Linked DNA regions of Homo sapiens: all the other regions are linked to region 4. The links are contacts of gene promoters, found by promoter capture Hi-C in blood cells and fetal thymus (Javierre and others, 2016). All regions are on one chromosome and are shown on one strand. Each heading gives the region's core, a stretch centred on a gene start or on the middle of the fragment in contact. The rest is flanking DNA. Distances are from core to core; before and after follow the strand shown.

Region 1 (2,700 bases), core at 1-2,500, 1.1 Mb before region 4:
AGATTCATAAAAATCTAAACAACGGCCGGGCGCGGTGGCTCAGGCCTGTAATCCCAGCACTTTGGGAGGACGAGGTGGGCGGATCACCTGAGGTCAGGAGTTCAAGAACAGCTTGGCCAACGTGGTGAAACCCCGTCTCTACTAAAAATACAAAAATTAGCTGGGCGTGGTGGCGGGCGCCTGTAATCCCAGCTACTCGGGAGGCTGAGGCAGGAGAATCACTTGAACCCAAGAGGCAGAGGTTGTTGTGAGCAGAGATCGCCATTGCACTCCAGCCTGGGCGACAAGAGTGAAACTCTGTCTCAAAAAAAAAAAAAACAAAAACAAAAACTAAATGACATTTGAAAGCAATTTGTAGATTTTCACACTTCCTAAGAATTCTCAAAGATGCCAAAAACAAAAATCGCAGCCACTAGCAATTTAAATGACTTCCTCGTAGCCAAATAAATCCTAAGGTAAAATTATAAACATTCCCTTAAATTCAAATTTTATAACAAAAAGAAAGATAATAGGGAACGGAGGGTGAATTATTGTGTTTGATATATTTGGCGGTGAAAAATACATATATTACGTGCTGTTTAGGGTCCACTGAGAGTCATAAAACTGACCCTAGTGACCGAGCTACCGGAAGGACTTGGCAAGGGTCTAGCGAGCTCGGTTATCTGCGTTTTCCAGGTGGGGCAGCCCAAGACCCTTCTCAGACCCAGAGAAGCTGGGTTTCCGCCCAAAGCCCGGCCCCAAACCACCGATTTCCGACCTTTCAACCTACTTTGGCAGAGCAAGAGTTTCCGCGGGAGACTCCCTGCTTCCCTCTGCCCAGGTCCCCTGAGGCCGAGTGCGGTACTGAGTGCTGAGTAAGGGGTGCCGAGTGCCAAGCACTGAGTAACTGGGGGAGGGGAACCATGCAGCTGTCATAAATAATTAGCTCCTGTGAGGAACAGGAACTCCGAGACTGCGGCCGGGCCAGGTGGGCAGAGGTCGCAGCGCCCTCGCCGCGTTCCCCGTCCCCATCCGACGCCAGGACAGCGCCTCCTTAACTGGGGTAGCCCCTGAGAGCGTGGGCGGAGCCCCGCCCCGCGACCTCAAGGCCCCGCCCCCTCAGCGCCTCCCGGCCCAGCAGCTCGGAAGACCGCGAGGCGCGCTTTTCTGACGCATCGGCGCCTTTCGTCTGACGTATGCCTGCACCGCCCCCTCCCCTCCCTGCCCCGCCCCCGCCCCGCCCCCGACTGCGCGGCGCCCGCCCTCCCTTAGTCAGAGCTGCTCGTCTGAGGCTGCTGAGGCGACGGCCGGTGTCGTGGTCGCGGTACCTGTTCCAACACGGCTCGCGGGCCCGTGCCGGCTCCGGTCCCCGGCGCGGCTGTCCGAGCCCCTGCGGCGGGCGGACGATGGTGTGGCGGAGCACGCGGACGCGGGCGGCGCGGCGGCGGGCATGAAGGAGGATGGAAGGGCAGGACGAGGTGTCGGCGCGGGAGCAGCACTTCCACAGCCAAGTGCGGGAGTCCACGGTGCGTGGGGACCGAGGCAGCCCTGACAGTCCCGCGTGCCCGCCCGGGCCCTCCGTCCCCGCCCCCGGGCCCCCGGTCCCCGGACCCCTCACCTCCGGGCCTCGCCTCGCGCCTCCCGCCCCGGCCTCTGCCGCTCTCCCTCCCCACCCCTCCTCTCCCCTCCCCTCCCCTTCCCTCCCCACCTCTCCTCTCCCCTCCCCTCCCCTTCGCTTCCTCTGCCTGCCCCCCCGCTCCGCTCTTGCCTCCCCTGCCCCCTCGCGCTCCCTCCGTTCGAGCCCCGACCCCGCCCCCGCCCCGCGGCCTCGGTGCTGCCCTTCCCTTCCCGCGGGGAGGGCTGCGGTGCGCGCCGCGCTCTGGGACCCCAGGGGCTTCCTCTCTGGGCGGGTGTGCGGCTCGCGCCTCGGGGTGTGGACGGCGGCCCCGCCAGTGCGCGCCCCCGCGCTCCGCCGCCAGGCCAGGTAGGCAGGTGGATGCGCAGGCGTCCCGGAGAGCCTGGGTGGGCCCGGCGGGTCCGGGAAGGGCCGGGCTGCGCGGAGCCCGCCCGCCTCTCGCGTTTGGACCCGGCCGGTTACCTTGTCCCGGTCAACACCTCCTGCCCTCCTGGCGCCTCACGTTTCCATCCCTCTTTCATCTCCCCCAGCCCCCACGTGGGTTGAGTTCGAAACCTTACCGTTTGGGATGAGAATATTGGTTATTTTTGGGAGTGAGGACCTCAGCAAAAGTCCATTTTGCTATGGAAGCAACTTCTTAGGGAAGCAGCTTCTTTTTTGGCCCATGTTCCATGTGTGCTGTTGGCAGGAGTCAGGAAGCGGACTTGACCTTGGAAAGTCTACTTTGATGTTTTTATCTTTTCATGATGCTCTAGAATGTATTGTAATTGGGTTTATCTGTGTTTTCATAACTGTTGTAAAATATGTCAATTTTTTATGTTTATATTTACGCCTCTCCTAAGTTGTCTACGATTCAGTCACACTTGGTTTGAGGTGAAAAAATTCTGCTTTAGAATTATCTAATTTGTGTACTCACTGATCTTGAAAATTGAGAATCACTTTGGAAGTCATACTTTGAATAAAGAGGACATATAAAGTCTGAGCTGGTGGAATTTGAGTTAGTGGAATTTGGTACACATTTAGTTGTAATTTTTATAATTGAAGCTAAAATACACAGAGATAAGTTCATGTAATCATACATGTAC
Region 2 (2,700 bases), core at 124-2,623, 1.5 Mb before region 4:
CTTGGCCTCCCAAAGTGCTGGGATTACAGACATGAGCTCGGGTGCCTGGCCAGGTTTCCCTTCTCTACTGTAAACCTAGTAGAAACTGCTGGCTTGCTGCTGTGTGTGTAACATTTGAGGAACTAAGGCAATGGGATGTTAAACTTTAACATTTCTGCTGGGCACAGTGGCTCACGCCTGTAATCCCAGCACTTCGGGAGGCCAAGGTGGGCGGATCGCCTGAGGTCAGGAGTTTGGGACCACCCTGGCCAACATGGCAAAATCCTGTCTCTATTAAAAATACAAAATTAGCTGGGCGTGGTGGCGGGTGCCTGTAATCCCAGCTATGTGGGAGGCTGAGGCAGGAGAATTGCTTGAACCCAGGAAGCAGAGGTTGCAGTGATCCAAGATTGCACCACCGCACTCCAGCCTGGGCAACAAGAGGGAAACTCCATCTCAAAAACTTTAACATTTCTCTTAAAAGGTCAGCTTTATATTGCTATTTTATTAGCCACTTCCTGATGAGGAGACACAAGCAGTGCAAGCCTGCTGACTCTGGTTGCGGGGGCAGGCACCCGGGTGAAGATCACCTTCCAGAGCGCCGGGCGCCCTTCCACACGCAGTGCCCACTCCTGACCACCAGATGGAGCCCACGCACTGCCCAGGACCACGAAGCCGACCCGGGGTCTGGAGCAGGCCAGGCAGGCACTTGCTGGACACGTGGGCAGCTGCCCGCAGTGGGACCACCAGAAAGGCGGTGCCTGGGCGGCCTGCACCGGGCGCCCACTCCTACCCTGAGCTAGGGCCGGCTGGCAGCCGCAGGGAGGCTCTCGTGAGAAAAATGGGGGTCCAAGAATTGAGGGTAGGAACCATACAGGGGCTAACTTGAAATTTACCTTAGTTAGCAAGACTGTTCTCCATAGATGTAGCAAATCCATGCACTCAACCAGTATTTACTGAGCATCTGCTGTGTGCAAGGCGTTATTCTACATGCTTGGTAAACAGCAGTTTACTAACCTCCCACCCTCCATGAAACTTACATGGTGGGGGAGAAAGGAAGTAATAGGTGAGTGAAGTACATGGTGTATTAGATGAAAATCAGCACTCTAGAGAAAGATACCAATAAGAGAGGATGGATGTGCTGAGGTCAGGGGGGCTGTGTTTTAAATAGGGTGTGGCAGGGGAGGTGGCACTGGGCAATAAACTGCTGTACAACACGAGATCAGCCATGCGCCACAGCACAGCACACATCCCAGGGCCCCAAGCCGGGGAGGGGCGCGGTCTGATGGCACCAGGGGCGAATGACAGGGTCTCAGCTCTCCCTGAGCTGGGGACACACTGGAAGGTCTTGCCCAGAGTGTCATGAACTGACTTGAGGTCAGGGTCACTTTGGCAGTGGGCAGGAACTGAGGACGGAGGACACTTTGCTGCAATTCTAAGCCAATGGCTTGGGACAGGGAGGGGCAGAGAAAGCGGCAGGAAGGCCTCAGGTGTTGTTGGGAGGGTCTGTGATGCAGTGGTAGGTGTTGAGTGGGAGAAGGCCAGGCTGACCTGAGGAGGGCCAGGTGCCTAGGGACAGCCCGCGTGTCGGGAACATAGAACGCAGTCCGGACTGGAGTCTCACGTCTGGCTCCGGGCTGCAATTAGCCTCTAGAACCCATCATTAGCTTATAACTGAGGGCCTTATTTTATGTTCAAAATACTGAGCTGAAGATCTCTTGACACCAGTTTTACGGTTCAGATAGGAGCTCCCAGCACCAGCCTCATCTTCCCTGACCCCCGACTGGGCAAAAGCAAACGTAGAGGCTCGAAGGGCTGTGGGCCAGGCCACAGCCGAGCAGTCGGCAGCTGTGCCACAGACCATCCTCCATGGAGCCTGGATGGCACGTACAGCTGGAGGTTCCGGCCCAGGTGCTGCGGGTATCAGGACTCCCTGGAGCACCAGAAATGAACTCCAGGCAAATCAGCTGGAATGCCCTGCAACTCCCAACCTAGAAGTTTTTAACATTGAAAGGATTTTTTGAGACTGTCTAATTGTTTTCCAGAAATCACCTGTGAAGGATTATCCAGGACACTATAAAAAATACAGACTGCTAAGCCCCAACCCCTAGAGACACAATGGCCTTCAGGAAGGGCCGGGAACACTGATCTCATGCACCGCTCGTTTTACTGAGTCAAAGGAAAGGCTTGTTTGCGTCTGCGTGGGCAACAGCCAAGTACAACCAGAACACGTTTCGAAATCCCCACGGGTCTACCTACCACACTTAAATCAACACAGCCAGAATGGGGCTGCCCAAAGAAACAGGCCACGTCCTGACTCCAGGACATGTGTACATACATGGCCTTATTTGGAAAAAGTCTTTGCAGATGTAATTGAGGATCTTGAGATGAAGTCATCCTGGATTACAGGGGTGTCTATAGGAAAAAGGCAGGACACTGGAGACAGGGGGAGAAGACACCAGATACCAGAAGCTGGAGGAGACAAAGGGTTCCTCCCTGAGGCTGTGAGGCCTCCTGATCCCTGGAGGAGAGAAATGCTGCTGCTTTAAGCCACCTGATTTGTGGTAATTTGCTACAGCAGCCACAGGGAGCTGATGACCATGAACACGATACCATTTTAAGAAAGACTACCCCCCTCACACTTGAATGAGCTCTAACAGCTCTGGTCCTGTCAAGTCTGTGGATGCAAGCACGACAGCATCCATTCAGTCATCACCTCAA
Region 3 (2,717 bases), core at 108-2,607, 1.0 Mb before region 4:
CAATAGAAAACAGCTGAGTTGTTCCTCAGGCACCAAACCCACCCTGTCCTCTTTGTGAAACATTTCACTTCACCAGTAAACTGTTGTTGAGCATCTAGAGGATTTTTAAATTTTCATTATTATTTGGGTTTCTGACAATTTCTTTACATGGAAATTAGAATGAAAATTATTAGGCTAATGAGTATTAATTGCTAAACTGTTTTCTAGAATTACTTGTTTATATTCTCTTGATAGACCATGAAGGTGCCTCTTGTTTTTAGCCATAAACTTAATAACAGTGAATATTAGTATCTTTAAAATCTTTTCCATTTTCATGGGTAGAAGGTAGTTTCTCATTATTGTAATGTTAATTTAAAAAATTTTTAGTCAGATAGGACATTTTAATTTTAATTTATAAAATATAGAAAAATATCTAATACATATATCATTTTATTTTTATTTATTTATTTTATTATTATAATTTTTTTGAGATGAAGTGTTGCTCTGTTGCCCAGGCTGGAGTGCAGTGGCGCAGTCTTGGCTCACTGCAACCTCTACCTCCCGGGTTCAAGCGATTCTCCTGCCTCAGCTTCCTGAGGAGCGGGGACTACAGGTGTGTGCCACCACGCCCAGATCATTTTTATATTTTTAGTAGAGACAGGGGGTTTCACCATGTTGGCCAGGCTGGCCTCAAACTCCTGACCTCAAGTGATCCACCCTCTTCGGCCTCTGAAATGCTGGGATTACAGGCATGAGCCACCGTGCCCAGCCCATGTATATTTTATTTGATTAATGTCCTTTGCCCTTTTTTGTGGTTGTTGCTTTTTTCATATTGAATTTATGATCTCTTTGTTTGAACACATCAGCTTTTCATTTCAATTTTTTACATGTTTTTCTGATTGTTATTTTGCTTTTTAATATTAATTGCTTTTTTCCAGAATTTGAATATTTTTTATAATATTTGGTTTTTCTTTTTCTCTTGGTGTCTCTAATTGTTTTTGTGTTTAGAAGATTGTTTCCCACCCTGAGATATGACAGCTAGTTGTCCCAATACCATTAATTGAATATTCTTTTCTGTACTGATTTTTTATGCTTCATTTTCAGTAAGCTAAATATTATATTAGCGTTTGTTTCTGGGCTCAGGTATGCAGGTTTTGGAGTCAGATAGACCTGGGCTTGAATTTCAAATCTGTCTGAAACCCTTAGCAACCTTGAGCATATTGTTTACGCTTTCAGAGTCTCAGTCTTTTATCTATAAAATGACCATATCAAGGTCTAGTTTATAGAATTATTATATGTAGTAAGTGGAATATATGTATAGTATAAAGTACCTAGTCTATTGCCTGGTGGCCAAGAGTAAGCAGGAAATAAATGCTGAGTTTTACTTTCTGTTTTTTCCCTCTGGTTTGTCTGTCTATTCCTATGCCAGTGCCATATTGTTTTAAAGACTGTAGTTTTGTAATACTTTGCTCCTACTAGGTTTTAAAAAGTTCATACATTTTATGAAGGTTTTCGTAAGCAAAGGCATGTATTTTGTGCAATATGGGACATTACAATGCTATGGAAATTTGTCTTTTAATTGTTTTGTCTGTGTTAGGGAAATGTATGTGTATAAACATGTTCGTGTGTGTTTAAATAAATAAATATTTGGTGGGGAGATTTGGAAAACAAAAGTCACAGTTAGCAGATTGGGTCCTTAGCAGTGGCTGTAGCCAGGCCAGCCTTGGTGAGTAGAAGGTGCTGGGTCCATGTATGATCTCCGTCCCTACCATCATGGTGACTTTGTTCCTGAGCCCATTGGGCAATGACAGGGGTGGCTGGGGAAGGAGGCTGACTAGTATCCACAGAGCCAGTCAGCCTATCCACTTAATTATTAAAATCTTCCTCTGCTGAGGTCACCCTTTGGTGAGCATTCACATGGGACACAAATACTTTCACATTTTTTTCCCATTCAAAGAGGTCTGTTCATGTACCTCATCCCAATTTTCTTATTTCCAGTTTTCCAATTGTGTTTCTTCAAGACTCTGAGCATCTGGCCAAACCATTGGCCATGGTCCATTAATATGTAATAATCACACATTTGGCTATTTCTCTTTCCAAGCAAAGCAAACCACCAGATGTACAGCCCATAGATCTGCCCATCGGAGAGTTTCCCTTCACCGCTGTCCTTTTAGGGATGTTCCAGAAAGGGGCAGTAGTGCTGCAGTTGTCCACTAACGTGGGGGCCTGCATATCATGCAGAACCATCTGTAAACCAGGCCCAGGTCTTCCTCCGTCAGCTGATTTTAGGGAACTCTCCAGGAGACTGTAGGTGCAGGCTGGGAGAGAGAAGGCAGCGTAGCGGGAGTGGGGACCGTCGGCATTGGCGGCACTTCTTTATGTAACTTGTGCCTTTAGGGCCTACTTAGGCCCAGACATGTACCACTTCCATTTGATGATGGAATGCTGCTGTGCACACCCAACTTTCTGGCTTGGTGGGTCGGAAAACATTCAGTTCATGATGGGCAACTCAGGTCCCATGGTAACTTGGTGGTCCATGTTTCAGCATTCAATCCCTACTAAAGCCCCATAGTGGGTCAAGAGCTGTTTCTCAAAGGCAGTTGTTACCCACAAGGATGGCAGGGCGTTGCCCCAACATCCTAAGGGCCTGTGCTGCAGTTCACCTTGAGAGGAACCTGCCAAAGGCTCCACACAGCATGCGTCTCTGCCTCTGCCCTTTCAGACACCCTTGGATCTGC
Region 4 (2,723 bases), core at 147-2,646:
CAGGGGTCCTCTCCCCCTCCACTCCAAGGGCCCGGGGTCAAGGGAGAGTGTTTAACTTCACAGGGCCACATTTGCAGCATCTGATGACTCCTCAGGGTCAGGATTTCCCCTCCACGTAAATAACCCTCACTCTCTAATCCTATGCTAGAGGAATCATTGCACATGAGTGGGATGGCGATTGAGAAGGGGAAGGGCATGATCTGTTTTTTTTTTTTTAAAAAAAAAAAGAAAAGCAGGGTTGAGAGGGAGCTTCAAATTTTATTTTCCTGGTTTACTTAGGACTTTTGAGTTTTTTTCCTTTTTCTGCAAAAAGTGAGGTGATTATAGACTCAAAGATTGCCACCTCCTGGGCACTGTGCCCTCTTTCTAGGAAGCCCCTCGTTAACCAGAACACTGTTCCCCCAGGGCCCCTGACCCCTTGGGCTGCAGCCCCTAGGACTGGTGGCTCCTGTGCCTGAAGACTGCTGGCCTGCTGAGCCCCCACACAAGGCCAGCTTTGCAAGGAGCCTGAATTCCACATTCAGCTCACCCCTGGCTCTGCACTTTGCTCTGATCGATCGTGGGGGTTGTGTGAGCACAGCTTCGCCCACTCGCCTGCCCCCCCCCCAACACCCTGCAATGGCCTCCACACACCCAGCGCACACACTGGCCCCCACTCTCTCCCCTGTGCTGGGGTGCAGCCCCCAGACCTGCTTTGCCCATCCACCCTGACGCCCGCAGTTCACTCTGTAACTGCCCTTGAGCACGCCTCCATCCCATTTGCAGAGCTCTACAAAAAAAAAAATGTATTAATTGAAGCACAATAAAAGAGCAGTATTTTTACATTTTTCTAAGGCACTTAAAGCATTTCAAATACCAGTGCTTTAAGTTATGGTCACTCATAATTATCCTCGGTCCACAGAGGCTGAGTCTTCAGGAGGGGCTCAGTCCTCTTTCTTCAAAATGCAGGGAGAGCCAGCCTGCACTATAAAGTCCCTGGGGAAGAAAAATTAAATAACAGCTGGGCAGCTGTGCCCCTCAAATGTGTGAGCGACTCTGTGCTTGATGACTGAAGCTTGCGGGGGTTTAAACTGTCCTTTAAAAACTTAAGTTGGTTTTAACTGAAGCACCTACCATTCCAGGGAAAGTCAGGGGGAAACGCAAGGATGTACACAAAGCCGGGAGTAACTGCTGTTACCACAAGACATGCGCTCCTCCCTCCCGCCCACCTTTATCTTAGGAAAGATTTTTTTTTTTTTAACTCGAATCCTTCAGGTGAAAATAAAGCAACAGCAGCAACAGAAAAAAAAAACGTAGTCTTCTTCAGGGTTAACATCAGAAGACAAGCTTGTGCGGCTTTGGCCAATCAGATGCGCCCCTGGCAGCTATAATATAGTGCTAAAGGCAGCCTCTCTCACAAGCTCTCCAGGCTTGCTACCATTTAAAATCAGACTCTTTTTGTCTTTTGATTGCTGTCTCGCGACCCAACTCCGATGTGTTCCGTTATCAGCGGCCGGCAGCCTGCCATTCCAGCCCCTGTCTGGGTGGGGAGCGGTGGAGAGTCCCCCGCAGCCGCGGCGGGCAAGGTTATATAGGAAGAGAAAGAGCGAGGCAGCCAGCGAGGGAGAGAGCGAGCGGGCGAGCCGGAGCGAGGAAGGGAAAGCGCAAGAGAGAGCGCACACGCACACACCCGCCGCGCGCACTCGCGCACGGACCCGCACGGGGACAGCTCGGAAGTCATCAGTTCCATGGGCGAGATGCTGCTGCTGGCGAGATGTCTGCTGCTAGTCCTCGTCTCCTCGCTGCTGGTATGCTCGGGACTGGCGTGCGGACCGGGCAGGGGGTTCGGGAAGAGGAGGCACCCCAAAAAGCTGACCCCTTTAGCCTACAAGCAGTTTATCCCCAATGTGGCCGAGAAGACCCTAGGCGCCAGCGGAAGGTATGAAGGGAAGATCTCCAGAAACTCCGAGCGATTTAAGGAACTCACCCCCAATTACAACCCCGACATCATATTTAAGGATGAAGAAAACACCGGAGCGGACAGGCTGATGACTCAGGTAGGAACCCAGCGCCGGGGCGTGGAATGTGTGGCTTTCCAGGGGGTTACGAGAAGCCGAACACTTCCAGACTTAACTCTGTTTGCTCTTCGGGCAGATAGGAAGGTGATTTCACCCGCTCCTTCCCCACCCACCTGCCCGCCCCCCATCTCTTCCTCTTCCTGGAGGAGAATGGAGGTCAAGGGTCCAGCTGGAGAAGTTTAGGGTGTGGTGGGGGTGAGGACGGTAACAGACGTGGTTCATTATGGCCCTGATTTGATGAGTCTTGCTACAATGGCCTTCCCCATCCTACCTCTGCCCTGGCTTGTAACTTGGGGAGACCTTCACTTTGGGGGCGTCGGCCCTTTCCAAGTCAGGAGTGGAAATGGAAGGAGAGGCTGGGAATCCCCCTCCCACAAACATGAAGTGGTCTCCTGGTACTGTACGAACGAACGAACGTAGCCTTGGGCATTGGAGCTCAGAGCCCCCACGTTTCCCGTTGCCTCTGTGGTTTTCTTTCCCACCACTACCCCCACCCTGCACCTCCCCACCAAAGAATTCTCAACTGGAAAAGCCAGGAGGCGGTTCTGACAAAAGGCAGGGGCTCCAGGGGAGACTCCGCCCGTCCCTGGGTGGCTGGCTGTATCGCAGAGCTGGCTTTGCGATTGCGTGTCCGCAATTGTGCCCATCAGAGTGTGAATGTATTGA
Region 5 (2,735 bases), core at 94-2,593, 1.0 Mb before region 4:
TGGTTTGCCTCCTCCCTTGCTGACTGCTGCTTCTCAGTCAGCTTTTGTGAATCCTTCTGCCAAGCTGATTTCTAAATATTTGAGAGCTCTAGGTCTCTATTCTCAGACTTCTCTTCTCTGGCTATACTTACTCCCTGGGATGGAAATCTCGTCTAGTCTCAGGACTTTAAATATCATCTGCAGATGATTCTAAGGTTTTAAAAAATTTATGGCCTGGCCCTTTCTTCTGAATGGTACAGATTTTTATCCAACTGCCCATCCAGCCTCTTGACCTGAGTGAATTATATGTATGTCAGATTCAACAGTGTTAAGCTATACTTATTTCTCCCTCAAAACTACTCCTCTTCTAATCTTTCCTGAGTCCTGAAATGGCAACTCTGTCTTTCCAGTTTCTCAGGCAAAGAACCTTATATTTATTCTAGCAAATCTTATCATGTCTGCTTTCAAAACGTGCCCAGAATTCCATGTCTTCTGAGCACCTCCTTGCACAGGTCCGAGTGGCTGCTCTCGGCTTCCTGCAGTTCTTTGTTGCCTGCTCTCCTTGCCTCTGTCCTGGCCCTTTTCCAGTTTCTTTTCTTTTTCTTTTTTTTTTTTTTTTTTTTGAGACCGAGTCTTGCTCAGTCGCCCAGGCTGGAGTGCAGTGGCACGATCTCGGCTCATTGCAACCTCTGCCTCCCAGGTTCACGCCATTCTCCTGCCTCAGCCCCCCGAGTAGCTAGGACTACAGACGCCCGCCACGACGCCCGGCTAATTTTTTTTTTTTGTATTTTTAGTAGAGACGGGGTTTCACCATGTTAGTCAGGATGGTCTCGATCTCCTGACCTCGTGATCCACCCGCCTCGGCCTCCCAAAGTGCTGGGATTACAGGAGTGAGCCACCGCGCCCGGCCTCCAGTTTATTTTCTGCATAGCACTTATAGTGAGCCTTTTGCACTGTGTCAGATCCTATCACCCTCTACTCAGAATCCTACAGTGGAATTCTGTCTCACTCAGGGTAAAAACCGACACACAGTACCTGAGTCTTGCGTGACCCGAATAGTGGGCTCCCATTATTTTCTGACCTTGTCTCTTACTTCTGCCCACTCATTGTTTGAGCACACCAGAGCCATTATTGCCTCCGACCCTTGGCACTACTGTTCTCTCTGCCTCAAATCCTCCCCCGTTCCTCTAGATTTCTGCATGTCTTGGCCCTTCTTGTCCCACAACTCTTTCCTCAGATGTCACCTTATTAGTGAGACATGCCCCCACCCCTGCTGGCACTTCCTGTTCCTCTAACGTTGCATAATTATCATACGACACACTTTATATTTATTTATTGTCTTTTTCTCGCAGTGTACTGTAAGCTCCATGAGGGCTATAACTTTGTTCACTGCTATGTCCCAGTTCCTAGAAGAGTGCCTGGTATATAGCAAGCCCACAGTAAAAATTGTTTTTATTTGAATGAATAAAATGTGAATGAATTTAAATCAGCCTCTGTCCTAAATATTAATTCCCTTGGTCATCGAATCTCTCTGACTTTAACCTCATGATTCACTGTGTTTCTGTCTTCTCTCCATTGCTCTTGTAGCCTTACTCAGACTTCATTCCATTGTAAACAATTTCCCCTTATTCTCAACTTCTTAGAAGACCTCTCCATTTACATTTCTTCTCCAAGAGCTGGTTTTCCTCTTTGGCCCATCTTCTACACTCCAGATAATTTTGGGAGAAGGTAGCGATGCTGTTGACATTTTCTTGTCTAGCCAGTGTTCCCAACAGGTACGTGGCTTCCAGTGGCAGGGAATCTTTGATGCCCTTTGGTCCTTTTGGTTGCTGTCAGTACTGTCTTCTGTTTCTCTCCCTTGTGTATTGGGAGAGCTTTGGCACACAGCTAGTAGTCTTCTTCATTCTCCGTTTGTCATTCCTACATGATGATGTGCAGGGAATGTCCACTATCCTGGTCCAAAGTTGTTCTCAGTCATATGGCCACCAGTACTTCTTCAGAAATACACACAAGGGATATTCTCTAGACTTCATCATCACTCAGAATGGTTTCATTTGAGAGTCTTCAATTTTTTTTTCCATGTTCCACAACAAGCTGTGGCAAACCTTTATTTCTAGCACACAGTCTTTGACTGTAACGAGATCTCCTGTTGACCCATCCTTTTTTGTCGGTCTGGCATTCCCCAGATCTGATAGAAATTCAATTGAAATTAAACAATTAACCTGATTAAAAAATGGGCGGCTGGGCACAGTGGCTCACACCTGTAATCCCAGCACTTTAGGAGGCTGACACAGGTGGATCACCTGTGGTCAGGAGTTCGAGACCAGCCTGACCAACATGGTGAAACCCCGTCTCTACTAAAAATACAAAATTAGCCAGGTGTGGTGGTGTGAGCCTGTAGTCCCAGCCACTTGGGAGGCTGAGGCAGGAGAATCACTTGAACCTGGGAGGTGGAGGTTGCAATGAGCCAAGATCGCGCCATTGCACTCCAGTCTGAACAACAAGAGTGAAACTCTGTCCAAAAAAAAAAAAAAAAAAAAGCAAAGGACTAGAATAGATATTTCTCAAAAGAAGACATACAGATGGCCAATAGGTATATGAAAATGTGTTCAACATCACTAATCATCAGGGACATATAAGTCAAAACCACCATGACCTATCACCTCACATCTGTTAGGGTGGCTGTAATCAAAAACACAAAAGATAACAAGGGTTGATGAAGATGTGGCGAGAAGGGAACCCTTGTACATTGTTGG

The links. Contacts are between HindIII fragments. The CHiCAGO score rates a contact against its expected background, and 5 or more counts as called.
Region 1: a contact is called between the fragment with the promoter of LMBR1 here and the fragment with the promoter of SHH in region 4, in 1 of 17 cell types (M1 macrophages). The highest score is 5.4, in M1 macrophages.
Region 2: a fragment that was not itself captured here is called in contact with the fragment with the promoter of SHH in region 4 in 1 of 17 cell types (naive B cells); the score reaches 5.4 in naive B cells.
Region 3: a contact is called between a fragment that was not itself captured here and the fragment with the promoter of SHH in region 4, in 13 of 17 cell types (M1 macrophages, megakaryocytes, total CD4 T cells and 10 more). The highest score is 9.5, in M1 macrophages.
Region 5: a contact is called between a fragment that was not itself captured here and the fragment with the promoter of SHH in region 4, in 1 of 17 cell types (total B cells). The highest score is 5.0, in total B cells.

The regions. Positions count from the first base shown.
Region 1 is chr7:156,891,733-156,894,432 of GRCh38, reverse strand. LMBR1 (limb development membrane protein 1) reads left to right here and starts at 1,250. Exons shown (of 17, transcript NM_022458.4): 1 at 1,250-1,505. The coding sequence starts at 1,440. LOC102723795 (a long non-coding RNA gene) reads right to left here and starts at 1,035. Exons shown (of 4, transcript XR_928253.3): 1 at 770-1,035. RefSeq lists silencers at 1,029-1,608, 1,659-2,158. The HindIII fragment of the contact is 17,725 bases long and covers 1-2,700 here.
Region 2 is chr7:157,271,656-157,274,355 of GRCh38, reverse strand. No RefSeq gene overlaps it. Among named protein-coding and RNA genes, the nearest start is that of DNAJB6, 64 kb to the left of the region's middle. RefSeq lists enhancers at 1,003-1,772, 2,087-2,381, 1,773-2,541. The HindIII fragment of the contact is 5,840 bases long and covers 1-2,700 here.
Region 3 is chr7:156,820,862-156,823,578 of GRCh38, reverse strand. The region is part of intron 4 of LMBR1 (limb development membrane protein 1); the gene reads left to right. Among named protein-coding and RNA genes, the nearest start is that of LMBR1, 71 kb to the left of the region's middle. RefSeq lists an enhancer at 2,391-2,717. The HindIII fragment of the contact is 4,162 bases long and covers 1-2,717 here.
Region 4 is chr7:155,811,136-155,813,858 of GRCh38, reverse strand. It overlaps SHH (sonic hedgehog signaling molecule), which reads left to right and starts at 1,396. Exons shown (of 3, transcript NM_000193.4): 1 at 1,396-2,036. The coding sequence starts at 1,737. The HindIII fragment of the contact is 3,572 bases long and covers 1,329-2,723 here.
Region 5 is chr7:156,838,832-156,841,566 of GRCh38, reverse strand. The region is part of intron 1 of LMBR1 (limb development membrane protein 1); the gene reads left to right. Among named protein-coding and RNA genes, the nearest start is that of LMBR1, 53 kb to the left of the region's middle. The HindIII fragment of the contact is 5,299 bases long and covers 1-2,735 here.